3 separate regions of the Homo sapiens genome follow, and regions 1 and 2 are each linked to region 3. The links are contacts of gene promoters, found by promoter capture Hi-C in blood cells and fetal thymus (Javierre and others, 2016). All regions are on one chromosome and are shown on one strand. The core of a region is centred on a gene start or on the middle of the fragment in contact, and the rest is flanking DNA. Distances in the headings are between cores, read along the strand shown. Region 1 has its middle 64 kb from the start of CDCA7L. Region 2 has its middle 130 kb from the start of CDCA7L. Region 3 holds the start of POLR1F (RNA polymerase I subunit F).

Evidence for each region. Contacts are between HindIII fragments. The CHiCAGO score rates a contact against its expected background, and 5 or more counts as called.
Region 1: a contact is called between a fragment that was not itself captured here and the fragment with the promoter of POLR1F in region 3, in 2 of 17 cell types (naive CD8 T cells and total CD4 T cells). The highest score is 6.4, in naive CD8 T cells.
Region 2: a fragment that was not itself captured here is called in contact with the fragment with the promoter of POLR1F in region 3 in 3 of 17 cell types (naive CD8 T cells, total CD8 T cells and activated CD4 T cells); the score reaches 6.5 in naive CD8 T cells.

The regions. Positions count from the first base shown.
Region 1 is chr7:22,007,815-22,011,789 of GRCh38, reverse strand. No RefSeq gene overlaps it. Among named protein-coding and RNA genes, the nearest start is that of CDCA7L, 64 kb to the right of the region's middle. The HindIII fragment of the contact is 4,993 bases long and covers 1-3,975 here.
Region 2 is chr7:22,078,282-22,082,370 of GRCh38, reverse strand. No RefSeq gene overlaps it. Among named protein-coding and RNA genes, the nearest start is that of CDCA7L, 130 kb to the right of the region's middle. RefSeq lists cis regulatory regions at 568, 2,072, 3,233 and enhancers at 496-640, 2,000-2,144, 3,161-3,305. The HindIII fragment of the contact is 1,656 bases long and covers 1,514-3,169 here.
Region 3 is chr7:19,706,815-19,710,992 of GRCh38, reverse strand. It overlaps POLR1F (RNA polymerase I subunit F), which reads left to right and starts at 1,956. Exons shown (of 4, transcript NM_001002926.2): 1 at 1,956-2,230. The coding sequence starts at 1,977. RefSeq lists enhancers at 1,804-2,083, 1,625-2,227, 2,194-2,263, 2,228-2,832. The HindIII fragment of the contact is 8,345 bases long and covers 1-4,178 here.

The DNA of each region.
Region 1 (3,975 bases), core at 462-2,961, 2.3 Mb before region 3:
TGAAACAAGCAGAAAATGAAATGGTGAAAATGGAAACCAAAGTGCTAAGGGGAAATATGCACAGGGACAGATTGAAAGGGAAAAACAGCAGCAGCCACCGTTATCCAACACTTGTTACATGTCAGGCATGTTAAAGGATTAGCGTAGCATTAATCCTCACAATAACCAGATGCAGTAGATATTATTTCTGCATCTATAAATAAGCCAACGAAGGAACAGGCAGTTTAAAAATCTGCCCAACGTAACACAGCTAGAAAGTGGCAACGTTAGGACTCAAATCTAATTCCATTTGAATCCAACACATGAAACTGGCCAAGTCAAGTCCCATGAGTGAGTCAAGTTGACAAAGCAGCAATTCTCATACCTTCAACATCAGCATCCTGGCTGGAAGGGGACAAGACTCAGAAACAGTCAATATTATATACTTTAGAAAGATTTTTAAATATACTCATTCAATCCCTAAATATATATGTACAGGAAGAGGAGGAATTATTCAAGACAGCAACTATAAAATTTCATCTGATTATTAACCTGTAGCATAAATAACCACCATTTCAATTTAGAGCTTTCTATGGAATAACTTAGGAATCTGGGCAACCTTGCTCGATGCCTGTTGTTCAATTGTGTCATTAACTGTCACTGTAACCATCACATTGATCAGCTCTCATGTTTTTAACAAAAAAGATTGTAAATGTTTTTAACCAAATTTGTAAAAATATATTTATTGTTAACCAAATGTTTTTATTTAGTGATTAACTGGAAAAGACTCCCGTATTTAAAATGCTTTAATTTTTTAAAATAACTTTTTTTTTTTTTCCTTGAGACAGAGTCTCACTCTGTCACCCAGGCTGGAGTGCAGTGGCTCCATCTCGGCTCACTGCAAGCTCCGCTTCCCGGGTTCACGCCATTCTCCTGCCTCAGCCTCCCGAGTAGCTGGGACTACAGGCGCCCGCCACTGCGCCCGGCTAATTTTTTGTATTTTTAGTAGAGAGGGGGTTTCACCATGTTAGCCGGGATGGTCTCGATCTCCTGACCTCGTGATCTGCCCGCCTTGGCCTCCCAAAGTGCTGGGATTACAGGTATGAGCCACGGCTCCTGGCCTAAAATAACTTTTTAAAAAGCTGTTAAATTAGAATCCTATTTGCTCACCAGTTGATTTTCAGAATCGATATTAAAACTGAGAGCTCATCATGCCAGGCAGCCTGTTGCTTCTGGGGGCACATGGAGGAATCCAGAATAGGCTAGCCCCAGAGCAGCCTATTGGAATAGGAGGCACTCATTCCTATTGTAACTGAGTACCCCCATTTTTCAAAAAAGAGAATGAGTTAATATTTTTAAACTTTTTCTATTCTTTTCTTTTTTATCCATTTCCTTCTGTTCCCCACCTCCTACTTAGTCCTTTAGAAATGCAATTATAACCTTTTACCTCCCCTTCACCAAACACTCCCTACAAGGCAAGTTGAGGTAAGTATGAGCTTAGAAGCTCCAGAGTAGAACTCTTTTTCCACCAGGAGACTGCCTCGAAGGACAACAGTCAATCCGCAGCCCAAATCTGCCCACCACGAAGTCTTCTATCTGCAGAGTTTCAGCCGCCTTTACAACCTAATTCTGCCCAAACAGGTGCTAACTTGACTGCCCAGTAGATAAGGCACCAAAGCGGGTACTCATATCCCCACCTGTTTGCTTCCTACGTTGGGTGTTATTCATGCTAGGCCCCCTTTTAAAAGTGCCCGCATTCCTGTTCCAGAGGCCACTCGGTACCCTTAAGGCAAGAAGACTGTGCTGCTTACCCTAAGCTAGCTTTGGAATAAAAGGTCACTTTCTTTCTACAAGACTTTGCTCTTGTTAATTGCACTCTGCAAGTGGTAAGTGAATGAACCTGCAGTTTGGTTATGTTATCGATGAAGAGTCACAGTCAAACCTGACGGGTGGAATCACAAAGGTAAAAAGCCTTGGAGCGTGGGAGAAAGAGCAAGCGCCATATGGGAGTGGTTCTTTGGCCTTTCTCCAAGGGGCGAGGTTTTCAGAGCAGCCCCATCTTCTCTCCCATTCTTACTATCCACTCTCCTCTGCTCCATACCCCTGACACCTTTGGAGAGACAGTGACTGTGACTATGTGTCAAGTTGATAGTTCCTTGTCAACTCATTATAAAATGTCGTATTTGTGCCAGGAAACTTAAAGTTGAAATATAGATGAGCTGGTCAATATTTTTCTTCGGAACAATTGCCCCATCATTGTTGCAGGAGAGGTGAAGTTCTGTTTCCTAGGAAAAATCTGTAGAGCTAAATTACCTTGGTAGTTTTTAGAAAATGTAATGTGCTTGTCTGGGTGTGGTGGCTCATGCCTGTAATTCCAGAACTTTGGGAAGCTGAGGCGGGTGGATCATCTGAGGCCAGGTCAGGAGTCGAGACCAGCCTGGCCAACATGGCAAAACCCCATTTCTACTAAAAATAGAAAAATTAGCTGGGAGTGGTGGTGCACGCCTGTAGTTCCAGCTACTCAGGACGCTGAGGCAGGAGAATCACTTGAACCCAGGAGGTGGAGTTTGCAGTGCGCTGAGATCGTGCCACTGCACTCCAGCCTGGGCGATAGGAAGAGACTCAGTTTCAAAAAAAAAAAAAAAAAAAAAAGAAAAGAAAAGAAAAAGGAAAGAAAGAAAGAAAATGTAATGTGCTAGATTAATCATCTAGCCATTAAAAAAAAAGATGTGATTTTCAACAGTTTGAATGTGTGAAAATACTAGTGGTAGAATGTGAATTTAAAAGACAAGATACAAAATTGAATGTGCGTTGTGATTTGAACTTTGTAAACAATGAAACGAGGTGAGTTTAGATGGCTGAAAGAGTAGAGAACAGATCATTAATAAAGGTTATTTCTTAGCGGGATTTTCGAGTAATTCTTATTTTCACTTTTGTATCTTGCTATGTTTTCCAAATCTCTATAACGAGCACATACTATTCCCTCCCCACTTCTTCCCCCCTTCCCTCTCCCCCTATTTCCCTCTCCCCCACTTCCTTCTTTTTATTGATTACCTAATAACTGCCAGGCAATATACCAGTTTCTGAGAATAAACAGATGTAAATAACAGAGTTCCCTGAGGAAGTAGTCACACTAAAATTTCCAAAGTGCAGCCATAAACAGACTAAAGGATTCCTATTCCAATCCATCCATGGGACAGAGGGTGCTGTTCTGAAACATATCATCATCTCTTTGGAATTTTCAGGTGCAGTATAGCCAGTGATTATGCTTATTGTAAATTGTGGATTCCCTTGGACAAATGTTCCTTTCAATACAGAAATGCACTAAATAGAGACTTTGGCACCTATTCCTGAAACGAGTGTTAGGAAGCACAATTCATTTTGGATCCTTTCCAGAAGATCCTGGACAAAGCCTGTTGCTGTGATGGCTTGGTGGGGACGTTGGTGCTCCTGTCACATCGTCCCACGCCCCACTTCTGGCTTACTACCAAGAGAGCAGACATCAGGGTTGAAAGGCAAGTCAGCAAGGCAGCTGGGCTCCCCCCACCCCTTGTATCCTGGTGGCCCCTGATGACTCCCAGCACAGCCTGTCTACTGCTGCTTCTCCTGGACTCCTCATCCTGTCCCAGGGACAAATTCTGGCTCTCCAGTGGGGCCCTCGGCAAGGACCCCTGAGGGTCTGTAGTTGGCAAAGACAATAGTGTTAAATACCTGGGGTCAAACAGCTGTAGGAGAAAATAAGTCTTTCTCTTTGTCTGGCCTGGCTACACATCTTTCTTTTTCTTTCATACTGTTCTTTTTTCTTTCTTTGGTCTTACAGACTGTTTTCAAAGCCCGGCTGAATGGTAGCTTGTGAGGAAAAAAAAAAAAAAAACAACCATATTGAAAAGACAAGTAAACGTCCAGAAATCTGGAAAGAAGAAAGAAAATCTCATGACTGTAACTCTGACCTCAGCTGACTCAAATAAGGTGTCCATTACTGCACGATTAGAACCA
Region 2 (4,089 bases), core at 1,092-3,591, 2.4 Mb before region 3:
CCACAATTCCCACCATCTTATATTATTGTTATGTATAACACTCATCAATATCTAAAAATGTTGTCACCCATTGTCCTTTTAAGTTCTTCCCTCTAATAAGGACTTTTTGGTCACATTTAGGTTTTCTAAAAAATGAAAATAATCACCTCTAATAACGAAACAATGACCGTGTTGCAATTGAAAGGCAAGTCCTATAGTCAAAATTTCAGTGTTGACTTTAAATTGAGGCACATCTTCCTCGCCTTGATCTTGAGTCTTGGGGGTGGGGTTTAGACAGGGAAGGGGTCCCGGTAGCTTCTCCTCTCCTTCTGTCCTTGGCCCTGTCCTCCTCCTTTCCCTTCTTGCTTTCCCAGGTTTCTGACTTTTCCAGAAGGCAGCCCAGGGTGGGAGCACTGGTGACAAAGCTGGAAAGTTCTGCCCTTCAGTGGTGACCCCACACTAGCACTTGCTGGTTGTGGTTACCTGCAAGAACTCCGATAACAAAAAAGTATTATGGTGCTGCAAAAGTAATTGCTGTTTTGGCCTTTAAAAGTAATGGGCAAATCGCAAATACTTTTGCATCAACGTAATACTAAAGATCTGCCACATGCAGCAAGTGCCAGTGTTGGGTCACGGGAGTACATACTCTTCCCTGTGTAGTCCTTTCACGGGGAGTGTGAACTCTCAGGGGGAAAGGCTTGGGGAACTGAGTCCTTCCTTACCTCCCTCAGCCCCTAGAAATGTAGTCATCCTCCAGCCAAGACCACTCCAGTTACTCCTGGCTATCTTCCCAGACAGGACCCAAGGTGACCCTACAAAAATTCTTCCTCTCCTGTGTTCCCTCCCCACTCTGGTTCACAGAAAATATTCATGCAATCTTGTCCAGGCTGGGTTTGCAGACCAGCCCCCGAGTCGCCCATCCCTTGGATTTATCACTGTGGGCCAGTGTGTTGTGTCCCCTAAGCACAGGACATCCAGAGTAAGCCCTTAGAGTAATCTTACTGAAGCTTCTTTAAGTGTCTGGGCTTTCCCTGGTGGGAGGTAGAGGAGGTAGGAGCCACAGCACAGTTGCAGCTTCTTCTGAAGAAATCTGCCTACTCTCAACCTCAGAACCATTTTATACTGTGGATACGTATATTAGGCAGTAATCAGGATAAATTATGTTTTAATATGTTGTTTTTTTAAAAAAAATCCATATTAATGCAAAAAAATTATAAGCAAAATATCAAAATTATAAATAAAGACAATATCAGTACTCCGGGTTTTAGAGGCACACAAGCAAGTGGGCTTTCTTTCCTCTCCTTTTTCCACGACTCCTTCCCACTTGGGATGTATTTTCTACTGTCTTGGAGCCTTTGCCAAAACTTCCATATAAAGACCATGAGGGCAGGGACTTTGCCGTGAAAATTGCTAAATCTTCAGTGTTGGCATTTGGCAAATATCTGGGAATGAATATATGAGTTATGGTTTCTGATTCTTGGATGTTCTTTTATTAGGGAATTTACAGTGGAAAATAGCTGTGGGAAAAAAAGCTTGGCAATGCTACATTTCACTTCTACATGTTGACTTTACCTCTATGACATAGCTTTATTTATTTTTTAACATTTATTTTAGGTCTGGGAGTAATGTGAAGGTTCGTTATATAGGTAAACTGCTGTCACGGGGGTTTGTTGTACAGGTTATCTCATCACCCTGGTATTAAGCCATAGTTATTAATAACTTAAGCCAACAGGTATTTTTTTCTGCTCCTTTTCCTCCTCCCACCCTCTTCCCTCAAGTAGACCCCAGTGTCTGTTATTGCCTTGAGTTCGTGAGTTCTCATCCTTCAGCTCCCGCTTATAAGTGAGAACATGTGGTATTTGGTTTTCTGTTCCTGCATTAGTTTGCTAAGGATGGTAGCCACCAACTCCATCCGTATTCCCGCAAAAGACATGATCTCATTCTTTTTTATGGCTGCATAGTATTCCATGGCATACATGTACCACATTTTCTTTATCCAGTCTGTCATTGTTGGGCGATTAGGTCGATTCCATGTGTTTGCTATTGTGAATGGTGCTGCAGTGAACACTGTGCATGTGTCTTTGTGGTAGGACGATTTATATTCCTCTGGGTATATACCCAGTAATGGGATTTCTGGGTCAAATGGTAGTTCTGCTTTTAGCTCTTCGAGGAATCACCATATTGCTTTCCACAATGGTTGAACTAATTTACACTCCCACCAACAGTGTATAAGTGTTCCCCTTTCTCTGGAACCTCACCAGCTTCTGTTTTTTATTTTTTTATTTTTAATCATAGCCATTCTGACTAGGGTGAGATGCTGTCTTATTGTGGTTTTGATTTGCATTTCTCTAATGCCCAGTAATATTGAGCTTTTCTCATATGCTTTTTGGCTGCGTGTGTGTCTTTTGAAAAGTGCCTGTTCATGTATGACATAGATTTAAAATATAGGTGTGGCTTGCACTTATAAACCCAGCTACTGCAGAGGCTGAGGCAGGAGAATAACTTGAGGCCAGACTTTTGAGACCAGCCTGGACAACATAGCAAGATGCTATCCTAAAAATAAAACAAATTAGCTGGGTGCAGTGGCATGCACCTGTAGTCCCAGCTACTTGGGAGGCTGAGGCAGGATGATGTTTTTTTCCAAATGTGTTTTTGTTGTAGGTAGCATTTGGTTTTCTTTTTCATTTTACAGAATTAAACAGAAGAGTCACAATCATATGCTAGACCACTGCCTATTTTAGGTTTTGTTCCTGGCTACTAATTTTACTTTTTATTATTTAAAATTCAACTTACAGTAGAATTAAAAATATTTGGCAACCAAATCTCTATTTCTGTGCATCAGTACAATAAGGTAAGTATAAAGTCACATAGTGCAATAAAATTTCTCCTCTTAAAAGGTGAAAACTTTCCTTTCTTGGTGTGTTTATTAATCTCTTATAATACAGTTGCATTATAAATCACTCCTTAAAATACTGATATCTTATACACCTTAGCTGTCCTATTACTGTAACTTATTTACATTGAGCTCCATTGCTTCCAGAGTTGGTTCCTTCCAGTGGGTTCTTGGTCTCGCTGACTTAAAAAATGAAGCTGCGGACCTTCGCAGTGAGTGTTACAGCTCTTAAAGCTGATGTGGACCCAAAGAGTGAGCAGCAGCAAGATTTATTGTGAAGAGCGAAAGAACAAAGCTTCCACAGCGTGGAAGGGGACCCCTGCTGGCTGGGGTGGCGAGCTTTTAGTCCCTTATTTGTCCCCGCCCACATCCTGCTTATTGGTCCATTTTTACAGAGAACTGATTGGTGCATTTTACAAACCTCTAGCTAGCTACAAAGTGCTGATTGGTGCGTTTTACAATCCTAGCTACAGAGTGCTGACTGGTGCATTTTATAATCCTCTTGTAAGACAGAAAAGTTCTCCAAGTCCCCATTCGACCCAGAAGTCCAGCTGGCTTCACCTCTCACCATCTTGAAGTATCAGAGTTAAAGATTTTACATTTGGATTAGATTTAGAAATTACTAGAACTTTGAATAATTTGGAACTTATTCATGATTAACTCACAAAAATTAACACCAACATTTTCCCTGTACACCATTCACCCTCATAGACATACAAAATTTAATAGATATTTTCAGTGTTTCCAAATCAGAGGCATCCTGGAAGCAGATTTCTAGATCATAAAATTACAAAACTGGAATTCAAAGGGATCTCAAAGTTCCAGAAGAACTTCTCAAGAATATAAAATTTCTTCTCCTAAGCTCTTTTGGTTTGTCCTACAGTATTTCAGTCTCATAAAGTTCAGAGAATAACCTGGGCAGAGCTATTTTCAGCAGAAAGAAAAGATTGAGTGATTCAATAGCACAATACAGTGCTACTGTTGCCTGGAAGATATTTAAGAATGTTCCCCATGAAGCCTTGGCTCCAGGCATAGAGATATGGATGTCTTCAGCTCAAATTCCAAGCAAGAGGTTATTCTTTCAGTCAGTATGTTTTTGGGGCTCTTCTTCCTACTTTCTAGGTGAAAACATGCAAAGAGTACAGTTTCTGAAGGGAGGAAACACAGTCATCTGAGCAAAGGGGTGTGCATCTCCCTCCTTCCCACCACGGCCCCAT
Region 3 (4,178 bases), core at 707-3,206:
TTTTGTTTTGATCAAATTGTCATGATGTCCAGCTTGTTTTTTACTAAATTCTTTCTTGGCCAAATTGTTTTCATTCAAATCACTTACAGCCAGTCTAGATCCATCTTGACTGTAAGGTGTAGTCACCTGGAGAGGTTTTGATTGAATTGATCTGTGATGTCATCCGGGCATCAGGAGTTCTTAAAGCTCCTCACCTTAGGTGACTTCATTGTTTAGCCAAGTTTGAGCACATTGAACAAAAGGGTCCTGCACAGGGGTATCACAGGACTTTGCAACAAAATGAAGGTAAAAGCCATTATGTTTCCCATTTATGGACTTAAAAGTGTCTACTATTAGGTTTTGGGGGCAGTCTCATCCCACTATCATCTCATGCTGAGTTTGCAGTTATTTAAGGAATATTAAAGAAAATGCCTTTTATTTATCTTGTTTGACCCTCCTATCATCTCTCTAAGGTAGCAGGGCAAGTATTATTTTTCGTATTTTACAAGTCAGAAATCAGGTTTAGAGAGGCTAAGAGGCTTTTTGCAGTATTTAGGAGATGAGGGAGTATGTTAATACTCACATCACTGCTATACATTTCTCTTGGCACTTATCCAGCATAACCTGTTATATGTTTATGTTTAGATCCCACTTCCACTTAGGCTGTGAGCTCTTTATCACTTATTATTTATTAACTCACTATCAGGTTATTCATTCAAGATGTATTGGTTGGGTTTTTCTTGGTTTCGTTTCTTTGGAGGAGGGATAAATTGTGGGGGGCTACTGTAGTGAACAATACAGATATTATGGTCCCCACTTTAGTGAGTGTAGGAATCTATTGATGGAACAGGCAAGCAAAGACAGTTAATAAAAAATTAACATAAAAACCAACATAGATGGGTAACTACCTAATCCTTATAGAGAAAGAGGAGTGGGGTGCTTGAAAACTCTTTGCAAAGGTATAGAATGTAAAATCTAAGCTAGAAATTCATACATGAGTAGAATTTACCCTTGTGAAAAATGCTATTATATTCCCTGGTGGAAGGAACAGCGTGAGACTGCACAAAGAGAGACCTGAAAGTAGATCAAGCAGCATGATAATATTAGGGTGGGGAGTGTGACAAATGAAGCTGAAGAGAGAGGCTGTGTGCCCACGCAGATCACAAAATGGCCTTGTAACTTATAAGCCATTTTCATGAGTTTGTGTTGTCCTAGAGAAAATGGGGTGCCTATGTAGGGCTTAAACAGGGCACAACACGATCATATGTATTTCAGGGAAGATCTGGCTGCCCCAGAGTGTCCTCCTGACCATTGAGCTAGGCTTCCACAGGCAGGGAGTCCTGCGGTTTTGGCGGCAGGGAAAGAGAATAGTGTCCAAATAGAATGATATTTCCACTTTGGGCAATACAGGTCTTCAGGCTGATTTGATACTTGGGGATACAAAAGAGGATCCGAGGCTGACAGCTTGGCTGTATGATTCCCTGATTTAGCAGTTGCATAATGAGAAGAGAAGCGGGACAGGAGAGAACTAGTGGGTTCGTTTTCAGATGCGTTGCATTACAATTATCAGGCCTGCTTAGGATTCCGTGTACTGCATAAAATATACTCCATAAATATTTTGATTTTTTATTGTACAGTCCAAGCCTGTAAAATTCTACCAAACCCACCTCACTACTGGAAATGATCAAAGTGAGAACCCCCATTTTTAAGCTACCTACTTAATCCAATAAGCCTCTGTGCGAAAACACACATTTGCCTGCCCTTAAAAGAGCAGTCGGTTGGCTTTCCTGCGTGCTCAATGCATTTCCGAGGCTCTAAGCTCCCGTTCTCGAAGCGCGAAAACGCGGTTCCCCCTGCTGGTCAGGGCTGCGTAATGCAGCGAAAAGAGGGGAAATTCCTAGGGGCGTGGTCGTTGGTGGATGGCGTAAAACGAGCGCCGGGGACATGGGATTGTGCTTGCGTCAACGGCGCGCGCCGTGGGAACCTTGACAAGCAGCATGGCTGCAGGTTGCTCAGAGGCGCCGCGGCCAGCGGCGGCTTCTGATGGGTCTCTGGTAGGGCAGGCTGGCGTCCTGCCTTGCCTAGAGTTGCCGACTTATGCCGCTGCTTGTGCGCTGGTGAACAGTCGCTACTCATGCCTGGTGGCCGGGCCGCACCAAAGGCACATCGCGCTGTCGCCCCGCTACCTTAACAGGAAACGCACCGGCATTCGAGAACAGCTTGATGCGGAGCTCCTTCGCTATTCTGAGAGGTACCGATCTCTTTGCCTGTTCCTTCTTTTGTGCACGGGAAGTAAAGCAGGTGGATGTGCTGACGACGCAGCAGAAAGGGGCAAATGGCAAAGGTCGCATTGCCCCCCAGAGCTTAGCCCCCTGGATTTCTAGAGTCGCGATCCGTCCCTCAAGGCCAGTACCGCTCTGGTAAAGATCTATACAGGGTCCCTTTCATAGATAGAGAAGAAAACTTAAAGATGAAGTTCAGGTGTGGGCGGAGGGAGTGGAGATTCTTGCTCCAGAACCCTGGTGTAGGGGTAGGAAAAGACCAGGGATCTGGAGACCTAGTAGGCCCAGTTCTGTTTGGCATTCAACGTTTCATTTATCCCCTTACGGATGATGCTTTCTCATTTGACGATAAAAATCTGGTTTGCAGTGCTTGAGTAGATTCTCATTCCATAGAAGATAGCATACGAAGCATTAGTACAACCGTTCTATTTGTAAAACATGAAGGACCTTTTTTGTTGTTGGATTTCGCTCTGGTAATTTCCCCATTTTCTCTTCTCTTGGACCTGATCTGGGGATTATGAAAATGCCATTAGTTTAGCGGGATTTTGTTGTTTTTAAGAAGATTTATTCAGTCGAACTAGTGAGCCTGTTGCTTTGGGGAGAGAAAAAACCAAAACGTATGCATTTATATTACGGTATTCAAAAGTGACTTGAAAACTTAGAATTACAGAGGTGTGGGGCGGGGGGCGCGGGCATGTGCTTGAGTATTCCTCTGGACTATACTTTGGTTTAAAAGCGGGGTTCTAAAACTAGAGGGAATGGATTCTCTAGGGATTCATGATTGCCCTTCAGGAATTCCTATGTGAAGTTCCTTGGGCACTGCATCGGAAGTTTTTATCAGTTTCTTAAGGGATCCTGGACCTCCACCCATGTCTAGAATCTGCAGATTCTTCCAAGCACCAATATACACTTCTTGTATGTTTATATTACATACCGAACACTTGAGATACAAAAACAAAAAATAAAATCTCTGTTTCAAGGAGCTTTAAGCTGTAGGAGAGATACAAATACAAGCCAATAAATAGTAAAGTGTTAAAATTTGACAGAAATCTAATAAGATAAGGAGTGTAGAATTTGGATCTTGGGACCTTTGAGAACAACTTGATTGAAGAGGGTACTTTAACATGGTAACATTCCAGGCAAAGAGAGTGGCATAAACAAACGGATACTGGATGTGAACTGGTATGCTTTGCCCAGAGAACTGTATCTATTATATAAGTAGAATAAGGTTTATGTCAGGGGAAAGGCATTGGATGCCATTGGAGAGGAGGGCAGGGGGTCAAAGATGACTCAGAGAGGATGGCCATTTTGCTTTTCCCTTCCTGCCATTGCCAGTTTTTGTTATTTTGGGGGTAAGGTGGGGTTGTTGTTGTTTTTCCTTTTGTGTTTCTGTTTTCTTAAGCAGGGTTAGTGCTCCGTCCTCTCAGTCCCTTTAACGCTGAGACTTGGCACACTTTTGAGAAACTAGTACTTCTCTGCAGTCCCTGGCATATCAGATTTGCAGTTTAAGAAACAACATTTACTTAATGGTTAGCTACCAAATAGGATGAGAAAGTGGACAAGGAGAGGAATTAAGATAATGTTATAATTGTCCAAGAGAAAATGATTAGAGAGGATGGATTTGAGAAATTAAAGGATATACAAAGTAGTCATAACATTTGGAAACACAAGCAACTATCTTGTTTTCTGTAACCAGTACTGCCTGCACTTGACAGGCTAGAGGGGGAAATCACGCAGAGTGGCTCTGAACAGATCTGGACACCACTCCTTCCATATTACTTGGGTATGCTGTTTATTCAAGTGCAAATCAGGCACCACACTTTGAACTATGCATTACTAATAAGGGACAAAACATTGAACATATAGTATTAAAGAACTGAAGTGAGGCTACCACCTTGCCCTGATACCTATTTAGGA